Regions from separate parts of the Homo sapiens genome. Here region 1 is linked to region 2. Evidence: promoter capture Hi-C in human tissues and cell types (Jung and others, 2019). All regions are on one chromosome and are shown on one strand. Each heading gives the region's core, a stretch centred on a gene start or on the middle of the fragment in contact. The rest is flanking DNA. Distances are from core to core; before and after follow the strand shown.

Region 1 (7,435 bases), core at 3,458-5,957, 210 kb after region 2:
GTGCGAGTGTGCATGTGTGCGGTTGTGCGGGTGTGCGAGCATCACGTGTATCTGTCCTCAACAGCCGAAGCTTGCTGTGCATGCTGCTGATGCGCTCTCCTCCCTGGTACTCTTTGTGTCTGTGTTTCCACGTATTTTCTTCTGGTTCACGTTTACTAGGACGACGAGAGACAGCGTGAGCGAGCACGTCCTTTGAGTCCTCCTTACCCTGTTTTCAGAGCCGGGCCAGGCCCAGCAGCCCCCTTAGAGGTCAGAAGGGCCTCGCCTGCGATCCGATGAGCCTTTGTATGGAGATGAGACTGCGCTCCGAGCTCTAGAGCCCAATGAGGTGGTCAGGTTGCAACAGCAACCGGGCGTGTTAAAACCTAGTTCCTTTGAATATGTTTCATTCACCAGCCCGCATATTAACTTTTGATGCTCTGGGAGGAATATGACTATTAGAAAAGGACTCCTGAGAGTGCTTCCCAGAATGCCAACATTCCCAGTAACTTAGAGAACGCTTTCCAGGAGGGGACTGCAGCTTGTTAAAGAACCCAGGCCAGAGGAACCACTCAGATGTTCTCAGTGGCTTTACTTACTGTGAGGTCAGGCTTCAGGGGTTAGCCGGGGCTGCCTTTTGGAAGGTGGGACCTTTCTAAGACCTGTGCAGGCCATTCTTCCCCCTCAAAATGGCAAAACAGCCCCTCCCAGATGCTAAACTGGGCTCCCCCCTCCAAGACAATTGCTTTTACAAATGGCCAAGTGTGAGACCAGCCGCGGTGTTGCGGACACTTTCAGTTTCGTGCCCTTTTCCACAAGCAACCCTCTTAGAGTGGAATGTTGTGAAGAGTAATTTCATAGTATATAGTGACAGTCATACTCCTATCATTTCTGGGCACCTGCTTTGGCTCTGCAGCTTATGCTGGTTCTCATTTAATCTTCAAGTGTAACAGATGAGGAAACAGGCTTGTGGATGGAGGAGGAGCTCAAGGTCATTCTGCTGGTGGTGCTGGCTCAGACCAGGCCTGCCGCTGTCCCCCAGCGCTTCCCTGGGTCCTCAGCCTGTGCAGATGTGGTGGCCGTGCTGTCACAGCATTAGTTCAAGTCAGTCTTTTGATAGGTACCACTCGGATGGCCAGCCTGCCTTGGCAGCTTTATTCCAGGCGCGCTCCCAAATCCTCAGGTTATTTTCACTGGTGAATCTTGATACTGCAGACAGCGGGGTCGGAGATTTAAGCACAGGATTTGACTGATGACCCTTTCCTCTTCTAGGTAAAATAGATTTCCAGGGAGCCAGAGGCTCCTTCCTGGAAGTCAGGGGGCTTCCAGTAGCAGGTTATTGACATCATTGGCTGTTTTGTAGTGTTCCTCCAGTTCATAAGTAGCATTGATGACCTTTCTTGTCTTTCTACCAGGAGTACTTTCTTTTTTCTTTCTTTCTTTCTTTCTTTTTTTTTTTTTTTTTTTTTTTGAGACAGGGTCTTGTCCTGTTGCCCTGGTGCGGTTATGGCTTACTGCAACCTTGAACTCCTGGGCTCAAGTGATCCTTGTCTCAGCCTCTTGAGTAGTTGGGACCACAGGCACAGCACCTCTGTGCCAGGCTTAGGAATACTTCTTCATTGTTTGAGAATCATGATCCTTTCTTTTCGCTCTTAAAACAAATGTGCATTGAAGCAGGCTTTTCCCCCGCTTTTTAAACCAACAAACGTTAAACCTAATTCAGGAGCCTCGTGCCCTTCTTGTCTTTAGCACTGTGCAGATCACACGTGGAATGTAGACCCTGCCCCTGGATGCGTCTGAGGGGCTCCCCATACCTCATAGTCTCTCCTCTGGCTCTCCTCTCTCTCCTGGGGCTTGTCCCAGCACCTCTGGGTAACGTGTTGAGACCTTCAAATCTAGAGCAAAACAACTTTGACTCTGCACCATTCCCGGTTCAAATCCTGGTGCTAGCCTGCTTGTGGGTGTCTCTTGGCCACTGCTTCTGCTGTCAGAGTGCCTCTTCCTCTTGGCCTCTAGCCCACGTCTTACCTGTCTGTCCACTCAGCTGGCCCCTTTGTGAAAGCTTCCCATGTCCCCCTGGCCTCAGGCATCCTGCCCTTCCTCCCACAGTGTGTGGCTCGCCCCTCCTGGCACATCTCACGGTCTCACCTGTGTGGGAGCCTCTGCCTGCATCGTATTGCCCCTGTCGAGTGAGCCCTGCTGGGTTGGAGATTGAGGATCTCCTAAACTGCCAGGCCCGCGTGGTCCCTTCACAAATTAGTTTCCTCTTTTCCACATGGCCCCTTCCCTCTTGCCCTGCATGCTGAGTCTCATGCAGAGCCCTCTGCATGAGACTGGGGCTCTGCTCAGGCACCCTGCCTCCCTGCCTTTTTTCTTCAACCTTAGCTGGGTCATCAGACCACACCCCACAAGTTGGCTGCTAGTGAGGTGCTGCTGCCATGTTGGTATGGTCTCGTCTTTCCCAGCGTGATTCCTTATAAGCTGCCCAGAGCAGGGACTTCGAACAACTGTGCTTCTAAACTGACAGCCTGCAAACTTTTTTGAAATTATCCCCAGTTAGACACTTTAAATTGAGACTCATTGTACTGACATAACTAAGTGTAAAGCTGAAGCAAATTGTATTTATGTACTGTGTTTTATTGTTTTGTTTTTTTTAAAAATGCTGTTGTGACCAATCAAACTGATCTGCTGCTAGAACTTTGAAGAACCTTGTTCTAAATTCCTTCTGGGGGCTGGGTGCAGTGGCTCACGCCTGTAATCCCAGCACTTTGGAGGCTGAGGTGGGTGGATCACTTGAGATCAGGAGTTCCAGACCAGCCTGGCCAACATGGCAAAACCCTGTCTCTACTAAAAATACAAAAATTAGCTGGGCCTGGTGGCACGCGCTTGTAATCCCAGCTACTTGGGAGGCTGAGGCAGGAGAATCGCTTGAACCCGGGAGGCAGAGGTTGCAGTGAGCCAAGGTTGCACCACTGCACTTCAGCCTGGGTGACAGAACGAGACTCCTCAAAAATAAATAAATAAATTCCCTTTAGGGTTGTCCAGGGTGGCAGCTGTCACTTAAGTGGGCAGTTTATTTTACCTGTTAGTCTGCAGGGATTTTGACGAGCACAGCAAGACGGGCATCGATGCTTGGTTTAAACCAAGAGACTTCAAAATTTGGTCCCATGCAGAGATGGAACTTGGGAATGATGAGTTGGACTGAAGTGGACCGCACCAGTACTTGCCTGGCACACAGAAAGGGCTTGGCACTTGAGGGAGTGAGTGCCCAGCCATTTTACATATCTTATCTCTTGACCGCCACAGTGGTCTGTACAGTTGCTACTGTTTTATAGCTGAGAACAGACTGAGAGACAAGACGACTCACCCAAGCCAGGACCTAGAACTCTGGTTTTACTTCCAGAGCCTTATCCCTTGCTAGCCCGACCTTAGCGCTGATAATCCACAACTGAGTGTTCTTTCTCCAGTGCTGTTTCTTCCCTCCGGGATCCTGGGAGTGAACAGTCCTCTTTCTTCTTTCTAAAGTTGGTTTGTCTGGCCTGGACAGTGAGCTTACTGTTGTCACCTCCAGGTTGCCCTGGGAGAACCGGGTCTAGAGCAGGACCTGTCACCATTTCCAACACCATTTCTCTTCTGAAAGGGTGCCTAAGGTTTTGGAAAGGGCTTTGCCTGGGATTTCAAGTATGAGCAGGCTAGGCCACCTGTGTTACTTTATTATTTTAATCATGCCTTGGTCTGTGATTAAAACAAGCATTTGACCCTGCGTCTCTGCTGATCTGTGCACTTAGTTCAGTATTTGAGGTTTCGGTCACGGTTGTGAAAACTACTGAGACTGAATCTGAATGATGGATTACTTCTGATGCATGTCTGCCAGAGGCTTGCATGAATTCTGTGATGAGGAGTGTGGCTGCGGAACCCCAGCGCGTGGCCTGTGACCCAGCTTCCCCACTTGCCCGCCGGGTAAGTCACGGACACCTCTGGGTCCCCGTGTGTGTTTGGTGCACAGGGAGTGCTGGAGAAACAGCAGCCCTTGTTGGTCTGTGGCACTTGCTTTTTCTCCCCCTCAGACCTGAAACCACTGGAAGAGGCAGGAAACCATGCCTGCCTCAGGTAGCCTGCATCCCTGCTTTTTTTTCTTGAACCTTCGTTGGGCCATCTGACCACAGCCACAGCTTTGCGCTGGTGAGGTACAGCGTGTCCTTGTGCAGCTGTCTTGTTGGCGTGGTCTGGGATGGGGCAGCCCCTTCGGGGGGCTGGTGTGGAGGAAATGGAGTTAACCCAGCATGGTCTAGGGTGGAGCAGCCCCTTCGGGGGGCTGGTGTGGAGGAGATGGAGTTAACCCAGTGTGCACGCGTAAAGCACTCAGAGGTGCTGGGCTTGTTAGCGTCAGCCGCCGCCACTGTTTGTTGCTGTTGGTAATAGTAAGAAGCTCTGACTGAAGCGATCTGATGTTTCTGGTCATGACTCAAGGCTTTTACTTCCTTTTACTCCTACTTTTTGTATCTGTGCTGTTGGCAACTTGGCAGGGCTCCTAGATTGTTGTTTGGCACTAGAGCATGGTTTTCTGCCTTTCCCGTGGTTTCAGGTCTGAGGGGAGAGAAAGCTAGTGGCGCAGACCAACAAGGGCTGCCCTTCTCCAGCACTCCCTGTGCACCAGAGGCTGTGACATCACCTCATTCCTTCCAGCAGCCCACTCAGGGTGAGGCAGGCGGGGTTTCCCATTTTGCAGATGTGGAAAGAAGGCTTAGGGATTTGAAGTGAGTACCTTGCCCGAGGTCACAGCTGGTGGTTGGTGGATCTGAATTTGCTCCCAGAGCTATCTGGCTGCAGAGGCCACACCTAAGCCGTGTAGGACTCGGGCTTTCCCCTCTAAAACTGCACACCTGTGGGTTTGAGTGTATTCACAGATGATATTGGGCCGGCTCAGGGCGGCAGGCCCAGCCTTGCTGGCTGTATGCTTCAGGCAAGTCACTTCACTTTGAGCCTCAGTTACCCTGTCTTTAAAATGGGTAACACTTGCCAAGCAGATTGCTGTGAAGACAAAGTGAGTCCACATGCACAGAGCACACAAAAGCCGATGGAAATGGGCATCCACATCCTGCCATGGCTGATTTTGGGCCCAGCATTCTGGCCTTGGCATACAGTTCACCAGACCAGGCTCAGCAGATAAGTAGCACCTCATGGGGTATGTGTTACTAATTCTTGTTAAAATGCAGCATGCCTCAGAATCTTTCTCAACACACAGCTTTTGTTTGATTTCCTATGAAATTGGAGACTTTGACATTCAGGTGCTAGACTTGAAGCTTCATGAGGGCTAGTGCCGTCTTAGGTCACGGCTGTGTACCCCATACAGTGTAGATGTTCAGATGCTTGAATCCAGCAAGGAATGAGTCCGTGTTTTCAGTTTTTGGTAAGTGGAAGTAATTTTAGAATTGTAATGAAACCATGTTAAGCCACAGTAAACAGTGTTAAGACATGTGACCATATACATCCAGGTGTACAGAAACTGCCCCACCCAACTGCTTCTTGGTGCACGTCCTTCTCATAGCCTGTGTATTTTGAGGAAATAATCTATTTCTTTATACTTTTTAGAGGCCTTTCTGGCTAAGAGAATAATTGCTTGCCGCATAATTTCACCAGTAACACGCCTCTTGACAGCTAGTTTCCCTGAAATTCATTTAGCAATTTCTCACCACCTCATGACAAACATGAAATCTTAGGTTAACACTACCTTCTTTGTCCTATCTTCTCAATGAGATTATCTTCCCTTCAGGGGCATTCCTGAGAGCCTTGTCTGTAATATTTCCTTAATTATCTATAATCATCTTAAATGATTGTGTTTTTTGATTTTGCACAGAGCGAAGTACCTACACATTATTTCAGAAGCACCAACCTGTTTGGCTCTCCTGAGTTCTTCCAGCTGGGCGTTTGGAATGTGGGTCACCGGGTGTGAATGAGCTCTTGTGGTTGCAGTGCACGGGTGAATCGGTGACCCAGTGATGTGGAGGCTGCTCTTAGATTTCCAGGGCATGGCAAAACTATTTACATAACAATTTGCAGTGGCAGCTTCCCAGTGGCCGTGATAATAATCAGTTAAAATTTACAGTGTCCAGAAGAGAGAAAACATGCCTGTTACCCAGGAGACAGTAGACCTGAGGCAGCGTTTGAGGGCCCTCCTCAAAGGGGCTGCTTTGATAATGAGATCCTTTGTTATTTCCCCACCAACGAGGGAAGCGTGCAGTCATATCATAAAGCAATGGTCTCAGCTTTGGAACTCTAAGACCCCTTTAGGCTGGGCACAGTGGCTCACGCCTGTAATGTCAGCACTTTGGGAGGCTGAAGCGGGTGGATCACCTGAGGTCAGGAGTTCAAGACCAGCCTGGCCAACATGGTGAAACCCCATCTCTACTAAAAATAAAAAAATTAGCCAGCCGTGGTGGTGAGTGCCTCTATTTCCAGCTACTTGAGAGGCTTAGGCAGGAGAATCGCTTGAACCGAGGAGGTGGAGGTTGCAGTGAGCCAAGATCATGTCATTGCACTCCAGCCTGGGCGACAGAGCGAGACTCCATCTCCAGAAAGACCCCTTTAGTCAGCGGCTTTTCATTCTGAATAGCAGGAAAGGTTTTTGGCGAATTGTCCTCGAAATTGGCTTAAAAGAGTTTCATGACAAAACAACTTTCTTACTTTCCGAAGGACTTCATCCTATCTGAAAGGACCTGGAGTCATCCCTGGTTTCTTTGTCCTAGGAATATGAAGACAAGGCTGGAAGACCTAGCAAGCCACCCTCTCCAAAGCAGAATGTGAGGAAGAATCTTGACTTTGAACCACTTTCCACCACCGCACTCATCCTCGAGGACAGACCAGCGTGAGTTTAAGAAGACTCTCTTTAGAGTGTTTGCTTTAGGAAATAAGTACAACTTGCTAAGCAGCTTTTCATTAGAGAAAAACTAGGGTCAGAAAAGGGGAGAAGAGTAAGCCAGAATCACTTCTTATTCTCTATATTAACATGTGTTCTGTAATTATATTAAATGACCAATTTGGAAAACTGTCCTATAGCATAGAAGTTTTGACCAGGATTTTCCGTTCAGGTAATTTTTCTTTTTACTTTAGCATTTAAAAATAAGTTGTCAGCTGGGTGCAGTGGCTCACGCCTGTAATCCCTGCACTTTGGGAGGCCGAGGCGGTGGATCACTTGAGGTCCAGAGTTGGAGACCAGCCTGGCCAACATGGTGAAACCCTGTCTCTACTAAAAATACAAAATACTAAAAATACAAAAAAATAGGTGTGGTGATGGGTGCCGTAATCCTAGCTACTCAGGAGGCTGAGGCAGGAGAATCACTTGAACCTGGGAGGCAGAGCTTGCAGTGAGCCAAGATCACACCATTAATTACACTCCAGCCTGGGCAACAAGAGCAAAACTCCGTCTCAAAAAAAAAAAAAAAAAGAAGCAGTGTGT
Region 2 (7,356 bases), core at 3,813-6,312:
CTATAACTAAATAATCATTTCCAATTCCTTCACATGCTAATTGTCCAGATGCAGGGTACTTCTGGGCAATGCAGAAGCAGCCCCGGGAACGGTTTGTGTGGTTATAATGATGACAGTAAGTCGGAAGCCAGGAGGGAGGTCGGGTCAGGGTCTGGCCTTCAGGCTCCGTGTAGGGAAGCCTTCTTTGCTTGGGTGAATCCCAAAAGGGACAGGGATTCACCAAACATAAGAAGGGGCTTCATATACTGGCAGATGGATCAAAAGATGAGTGTTCACTGCTGGAGGGTCCGCCCATTGTGTGCATTTTAGAGAGATGCGAGCCAGCTCGGAGAGAGGAAGTAACTTGTTCAAGGTTTCACTGTGCCACATGGCTGCGCTGGACTCAAACCCAAGTCTGTTTGAGCTCAGTCTGGCTGCAAGGTCATCTCTGAAACAAATTCACCAGGTCGGTGCACTAGGACTCTAGCTCAGGCAGCCAGGGAGAGGGTGATGCTGTAAATAGAGCGATGAGGGAAGGGGCCCCTGTGTGGAAAGGCAGTGAGTCAGCCAGGAACATGCTGGGGGCTGGGGAGGGTCCCACCAGCAAGGCGGACAAGCCCAGGAGGCGGTTCTGGGCCTTGGAGAAAAGCTGGGGTAGGGGAGAGATATTAGGTGTCCTTCCATTTTCATGTTACTTAACAGCTACTGGAGTGGAGGAGACTGCCCTAGTGGTATGCAGAATGATAAGAAAGGAGGTATAAGAAAGGAGGGATAAGAAAGGAGGGAATGGGAGGGACAGAGGAAGAGGGGGTCCTGGAGATGGGCAGTCAGAGCTAAGTAGTGGGGGCTTCAAGGAGGGATGGTCGTGGGTGCTGGTATTTATTGAGTGTTTGCTGTGTGCCGGGTACCCTCTGTGTGGATTCACTTACCCCTTCACCGCAACCCTCTGAGGCAGATACTATTATTATTATGCCCACTTTACAGATGAGGAAACTGAGAGGCTAAGTAATTTACCCACATCAGTGAGCTAATCAGCCAGTGTGCTTAATCACCGTGCTCCCCTACTTCTGGTGACATTGCTGATGACGTTGTTGATTTTCCATGGACTGGGTGGAGGGATAGAAGTGAGGAACAAATTTGGAAGCAGGAGACAACCACACCTCTGATCTGGTTTGGCCCTACAGGGATAGGCAAGCGGAACAAGGCGTTATTCCTCTGTCTTTTCCTGCACTAGGAAGCCGAAACCCTCAGAAGGTCAGGGCCTTGCTCAAGGTCAGACCATGGGGCTATGCCAGAGGCTTGAACTCTCTTTAGGCCTGGAATGATGTTACTACCCCTAAGAGAGGAGAGCCACTGAGAGGAGAGGCTGTCAGAATGCGGGTGCAGGCCTGGGGTGGTTAAGAGAGAAGGCCATGATGTGGGCCACCTTGACTGACAGCATCTGAACTGAGATGCCTAGTTAGTATCCCAAGTGAGGGTCTTGGTCCCATGGGGAGGCAATGGGGAGATTATCTGGTCAGGGTTTTATCTTGGCCTCATTCATTTAAAAGTCATCTCAGGATGGATTTTAATGATACTGTGTGGCCCAGTAGCAAGCACAGGGCTAAAATGAAATCCTGGTGCTGCCTTTTAGTAGCAGTGTGGCCTGTGCAAGCCACCTAAGTCTCCAGAGAAGCCTTGGCTTCTGTGGCTGCAAAATGGGGATCATCTCTTCCCTGCCTGGTATTGTGGGAGTTAAGGACAATGTGAGCAAAGCACTTGGCATGCACCTGGGGGTCAGTAAACAGGAGCTGGCATTGCTCGTGTCAGGTGACAGGTGAGGATTTGTATATCATTTATCAAAGTGTAGCTTCATTGAAATTTTGTTTCTAAATCTCTCTCTCTCACACACACACACACACACACAGGCACAGAACAAAGGAGATTTTTGAAATCTTCCTGCCCAAGTCCCTTGTTGTGCAGATGGGGAAACTGAGGCCCAGAGAGGGAGATTATGTACCCAAGATCACAGAGTCGAAGAGGCCTGGCCCCTGCCTGCCGTCAGTCCGTGTGCCACACGACATCACAAAGCATCCCGGACCCAGCCTCATCCCTGCTGTTCACTAAGCATACACATTACACAATCACTGCCCCAGATGGCAGCTGCTAGAATCCTCGCTAGCATCGAACATCCAAGTCAGAGGGCACTCAGAGTCGTCAGCTTCCTCCAGCATTGCCTTACCCGGCTGTAGGGGTTAAAAAGCTGTGGCAGGTGCTCCTGAGACTAGAGAAATGAAATGAATGATCTCAGACATACACAGGAGACAATGGTTTCTTCTCAGAAAATGCTGAAGGGGGAGTCTACCGCCTCCACACCAACCCTGCCTTAACGCAGGAGTCCTCTGGCCTCATTTGCATTCCCTAGGGATCTTAGCCCACAAGAGGGAGAAAGCTACTGTTCTCCTGAGTTTAAGTTGGCTGATCTCTACCCGGGAGCCTGAAGGAAGGTCGTAGGCAGCGTGGCACACTACAGGGGGTAAGGGGCTCATGCAGAAGAGCCCTGTTCCTGATTGCTCAAGGGAAGGTGGGATTGTTTTCTCCCTGATGTGCACTCTGACTACATCACAGATGATAGTTCAGTCCTGCACCTACAAACTGGCAGGCTCCGTGCTGGGCTCTGGGCATATGAAAATAAGCACCACAGGCAAAATGCCTGCTCTTGTGAGATACAGGTCTTGAGTGAGGAGGCTGAGATGAATGAGGAAACAAACATACAAACGAGATGATCTCAGATACTGATAAGAGCTGTGAATAAAGAAACAAAATATAGCAGTGGCATCATGACTGGGAAGGTTGGCTACTCCAAACTGGGCATCTAGATGTCTCTGGGCAGGTGACATCGTAGCAGGGCCTTTAACAAGAAGGAACCAGCCACGCAGAGGTCTGGGGAGGGAGTTCCTCACAGAAATCAGCAGATGCAAAGGCCCTAAGGTTGGAGTCAGCTGAGACTCCTAGGATTTTTATCAAAATAATTTGGAGGACAGGAGGCTATTTTGTTAAGAAAACAAAGTAAACAAGACACTTTCTTTCCCTAATCTGTCATCTTTCCCCACCAGCTCCAAATCCTATTAATACAAGATAATTCCTACTTAAAAACCTCTTCTTCCAAGAAGTCTTCAGGTTCTACTAGTTCATGGTAGAACTAGTATAAAAACTGGTCTGTGGCAAAGTAATAAAAAAAAAGGTCAATAAACTCTGTGTGTGTGTGTGTGTGTGTGTGTGTCACTATACAGGTGCCAACCGTGTTTCCTTTCTTCAGAACTGAGATATACTGTTATTACTTTTCAAAAAATTTTGCTGTTAATACTCTTTTGTAAAATATGATGTAGATGACAGATATGTCACCAATGTAGCAAAAATCAAAAGCTGACCATCCTTTGCAAATCCCCCATACTTTGGTCTGTGAAATCCTGGAGCCTGGAGGCACCTGTGAACTAGGCTCTGAAGCTCTGCTACTCTCCCCTCCTCTACTCCCAAGTGGCCCTGGATTTCCCATACCCTTTCCATTCTCGACACTGTTTTTAGAGTTTGAGTTCCAGGAGCACAGGGACTGTGCGTTCCCGGCACTGAGCCAGGTCCACAACAAGCACTCAGAAGAAACTGACTGAATGAACGTGTGATTTATGACGATATACATTCACCTGAGCGAATGCTCAGAGAATACAATTAGAAGCAAACTGGTTAAGGGAGACAGTAGTGTAAAGGAAACGAAACCCCATATTTCAGAGCCAGGAGCCTGGGTTCACATTCTGTCTCCTGCAAGAGGTGGTTTAGCAAGGTCAGAAGGCCCTGTCCACTCGGTAGCAGCCAGGCTTGGGTGAAATCACTTTCTTTCAGCCTCAGCTTCCTCACCAGTTAAATGCGGATGACAAAGATTTGTCCCACGATTTTTGTAAAGAACAAAAAGATATGTTCGCAGAAAAAACACTCTGTAGATAGTACGTAAGCGACAGTTCCTCGGTTTGTCCTTCCATGGATGCATGGAGCATCTAGCCAACTCAGCAGATGACCCCTCTCCAGTGTTTCAGCATCTGCTTCTCCCACAAGCCCGTGAGCTGGTGCAGGAAATTCTCCAACAGGTTCTGAACAGAAAAGCATAGTGCCTGGCACCTAGTGGGTGCTGCATAAATGAACAAATGACCCCAGGTAAGTCACTCCTCCCATTGGACCTCTTTCTTCTAAGTAATCTCCCTTCCTTTTCCAGGTCCATGATACTTATTTGCTTTTTTAGAACAGGCCTAGGAGTCACATTTAGGGAAGGTAGGTGGCTGTGAAGACACTTTGATTAAAAGGTTAATGCACATTTTTGGTTTCCACTTTCGAAGCTTCCAGAATTTATTTTTGCCTAGTTAATAAAAAAAGAGCCATGTCACATTTCTTTAGCTTGTCTTCTGGGTTCCTTAACAACAACAACAAAAAATTAAAGTCTTTATTTTAAGCCGCCTACTCCAGCCATCCCAGGACGCGGCGAGGAGGGGGCGCGGACAGGTGGCGCGCGAGCCCGGGAAGGCGGGGGCTGCACCGGGCCGCGGGCGGGGCCGTGCACGCCGAGCCCCACTTCCCCAGCGCGGGCCGGGGGCGGGGCGCGGCGGCAGAGTTCGGGGGCTTCTGCCGAGGGCAGTCCCACGTGCCCCTCCGCGGGAGACGTCTCCTCTCCGACGCCCAGCACGCTGGGGGGCTCCCGCTTCCTGCCTGCCCTCTCTACTGCTTGCCCTCTCACCTCCCAGCGGCTTCCGCCGCCCCGGCCAAGCTGCACGGCGCGTCCCGGGCCCTAGACCCCCACCCGCCAGGCACCAGCCCCGGCCTGTCCCCTCGCGCCGTCAGCCCGCGGCCCACCGCCCGCGCGCGCCCGCAGCCCAGCCGGAGGGAGGGGCAGGGGCGGGGACCGGCCGGCGCTGATGTAATCCCGGCACCCGGGCGGAAGGATATGGAGCGCGCCCCTGGTTGGCGGGGCGCTGAGGCCAGTTGCCGGGTAACGGAGCGGAGCGGCTCCCGGCGCGCCGCCTCCCGCCCTCCGCGGAGTGGCGCTGGGGCCGCCGCCGCCGCTTTACGTAAGGCGCAGGCCAGGGCCGCCCGGCGCTCGGCAGCCGCCCGCAGCCCCTCGGAGCCAGAGGAGAGGCGCCCCCGCCGGCCGCCGCGCCGCCCGGCAGCCTCGGCAGGTACTGCGGGCAGGCGGCGGGGAGGGAGGGCGCGGAGCAGCCCCTCGGCCGGGTGGGCGCGGGCCGGGGAGGCCGGACGCTCGCCGCCGTGGGGCTCCGGGGCCAGCCCGAGGGAGGCCGGGCCGCAGCCGAAGGCTTCGGGGTCAGCCCAAGGGAGACAGGGCCGCCGCCGTGGGCTCTGGGGCCAGCCTAAGGGAGGCCGAGCCGCCGCCGAGGGCTCCGGGGCCAGCCTGAGGGAGACCGGGCCGCCGCCGGGGGCTCCGGGGCCAGCCTGAGGGAGGCCGGGCCGCCGCTGATGGCTCCGGGGCCAGCCTAAGGGAGACCGGGCCGCTGTTGATGGCTCCGGGGCCAGCCGAGGGAGGCCTGACCGGCCCCGATCCTGGTGGTGCCCGGGCGTGCGGGTGAGCTGTGGGCCCTGGGACCCCCGCCCCGACCCCAGGACGCCGGGACACCAGCTTGCGGCTCTTGCGCCCGGGTGGGCTGTGGACGATGAGTCCGCACAATGGGTTGCCGTTGGCTGCCTCCTGCCTGGGGCAGGTGTCGCCGCGCCGGGGCGGCTCTTCTAGGGGAGACGAGGCGGGGGTGCTTAGACTTGATAGGACGTAGAGCCCCGAAAGTGGGCGCGGGAGGAAGGCTTCGGCCGGTGGGAGGCGCCCGGCGTCCCCGGCAGCGGGGTCAGGCCGGCAGCCTGGGCCGCTCGCTCGCGTTCCCTCCGTTCCCCTCCCCTCCAGCATTGTCCTTTTGGGGCCCCGGGAAGGGAAAACCGCCGGGCGGGGGAGGAGGGCCGCAGGCGGGCGGGGCCGGGAGGCCGGCTGAGCGACTGGCGCGCCGGCCTATGGCGCGGGGCGCGGCGCGGGGGGCGGGCCTGGCGGGCGGGGCCGGTGCGGCGCAAGGTTTGGCGAAGGTTACAGCTGGAGCTAGGAGTGACAGGCCCACAGTCATCCGTGCGCTGCGCGGCAAACCCTGTCGCGAGGGCGCCCCGAGTTGCTGCGGGGCCTGATCCGGCTCCTTTCCAACAATACGCGTCTGCAGCCGGCATTTCTAGAGCTCTCTGCTTCTTCCCGCTGGAGAAACCAGTGTGTGTCGTGTTGGAATGCTTCGTCTTGCCCTAGAATTCAGCTTGCGTCTTGTGGTGCGCAGGTGACAGGACCTGCCGAACTCTTGGTACAGACCCCTAAATCATGGCAGAACTGTCTTGATTTCTTTTTTGCCACCTTTCCGTTTTTGTCCTCTATAGGCAAGCTATAAAGATTTAACCCAGTTAAAAACAGGAGGGAGATTCAGCGGAGAGGAGGCATGCGAGATTCTTTGGAAAAAATTATATAAATGTAGTTCTTGCTAATAATTACCTGGGTTGGATACTTTGACTTACTGTTCAAGTTCCTAAGAAGGGATTTTACATTTCTGGGTCTTGTTTTAAAAACTGTTAGAAAGCTCGTGAGGGGGTAGGGACAAGCAGTTTTGGTAATAGGCGATGCTGTGGATAAAACTGTGCGGTAAAATGCCCAAGCTAGATTCTTCCTATGCAAAATAAGACCCGTTCCAGAACACTTTGACCATTTCGTGGACTTAGAATTTAAAGGCGGGTGAGGGCGGGGGGGGAGGAGGAGCGGATTCTATCACTCTGCATCCTCAAGGTCAAATATTCTTCCATCAGTTATTTTGGATTGAACCATTCTTAAATAGGTCTCAGGATCTCTATGTCGCTTCCTTATGACAGAACCTATTTCCGAGAGTGTGCCTTTGCATATCTATAGAAGCTCCTTTCACTTAATATATCTTATAACTCAGATTCAATTGCTGTACTTGCTAAATAATGCATTTTTAATCATTCAAAAAGTGGTTTACAGCTTCCTTGGGTATAATGGTTTTTATGTAAGCCCGTTACATCAGTGAAATGCCAGTTTTTAAACATTGAAGGGAAGGGAGAATATTATTCTTATTTATTTCCATAGGAAGTAGAATTCAAAGTGCAGGTGCTTTTTTGTTTGCTTTGGAGAAAAAGTATAGGTCTTTAACATGACGTTAACAGAAGTCAAATCTAAGGATAATTAGCTTGTTATGCAAGTTGCAAACATTTAAGAAGATCAGATGAATTTTTTTTTTTTTTTTTTTTGAGACGGAGTCTCGCTCTGCCGCCCAGGCTGGAGTCCGCGATCTCGGCTCACTCACTGCAACC

Evidence for each region. The method cuts DNA at HindIII sites, captures the fragments that hold promoters and counts their contacts. A contact is called where the count stands out against the background at its distance.
Region 1: a fragment that was not itself captured here is called in contact with the fragment with the promoter of KIAA0232 in region 2 in 1 of the 25 tissues and cell types used here (heart left ventricle).

The regions. Positions count from the first base shown.
Region 1 is chr4:6,987,459-6,994,893 of GRCh38, forward strand. TBC1D14 (TBC1 domain family member 14) reads left to right here. Exons shown (of 14, transcript NM_020773.3): 4 at 6,726-6,844. Among named protein-coding and RNA genes, the nearest start is that of CFAP184, 52 kb to the right of the region's middle. RefSeq lists enhancers at 1-13, 119-168 and a silencer at 1-18. The HindIII fragment of the contact is 7,304 bases long and covers 1,056-7,435 here.
Region 2 is chr4:6,777,665-6,785,020 of GRCh38, forward strand. It overlaps KIAA0232, which reads left to right and starts at 5,063. Exons shown (of 10, transcript NM_014743.3): 1 at 5,063-5,177. RefSeq lists silencers at 4,443-5,322, 5,383-6,152. The HindIII fragment of the contact is 16,993 bases long and covers 1-7,356 here.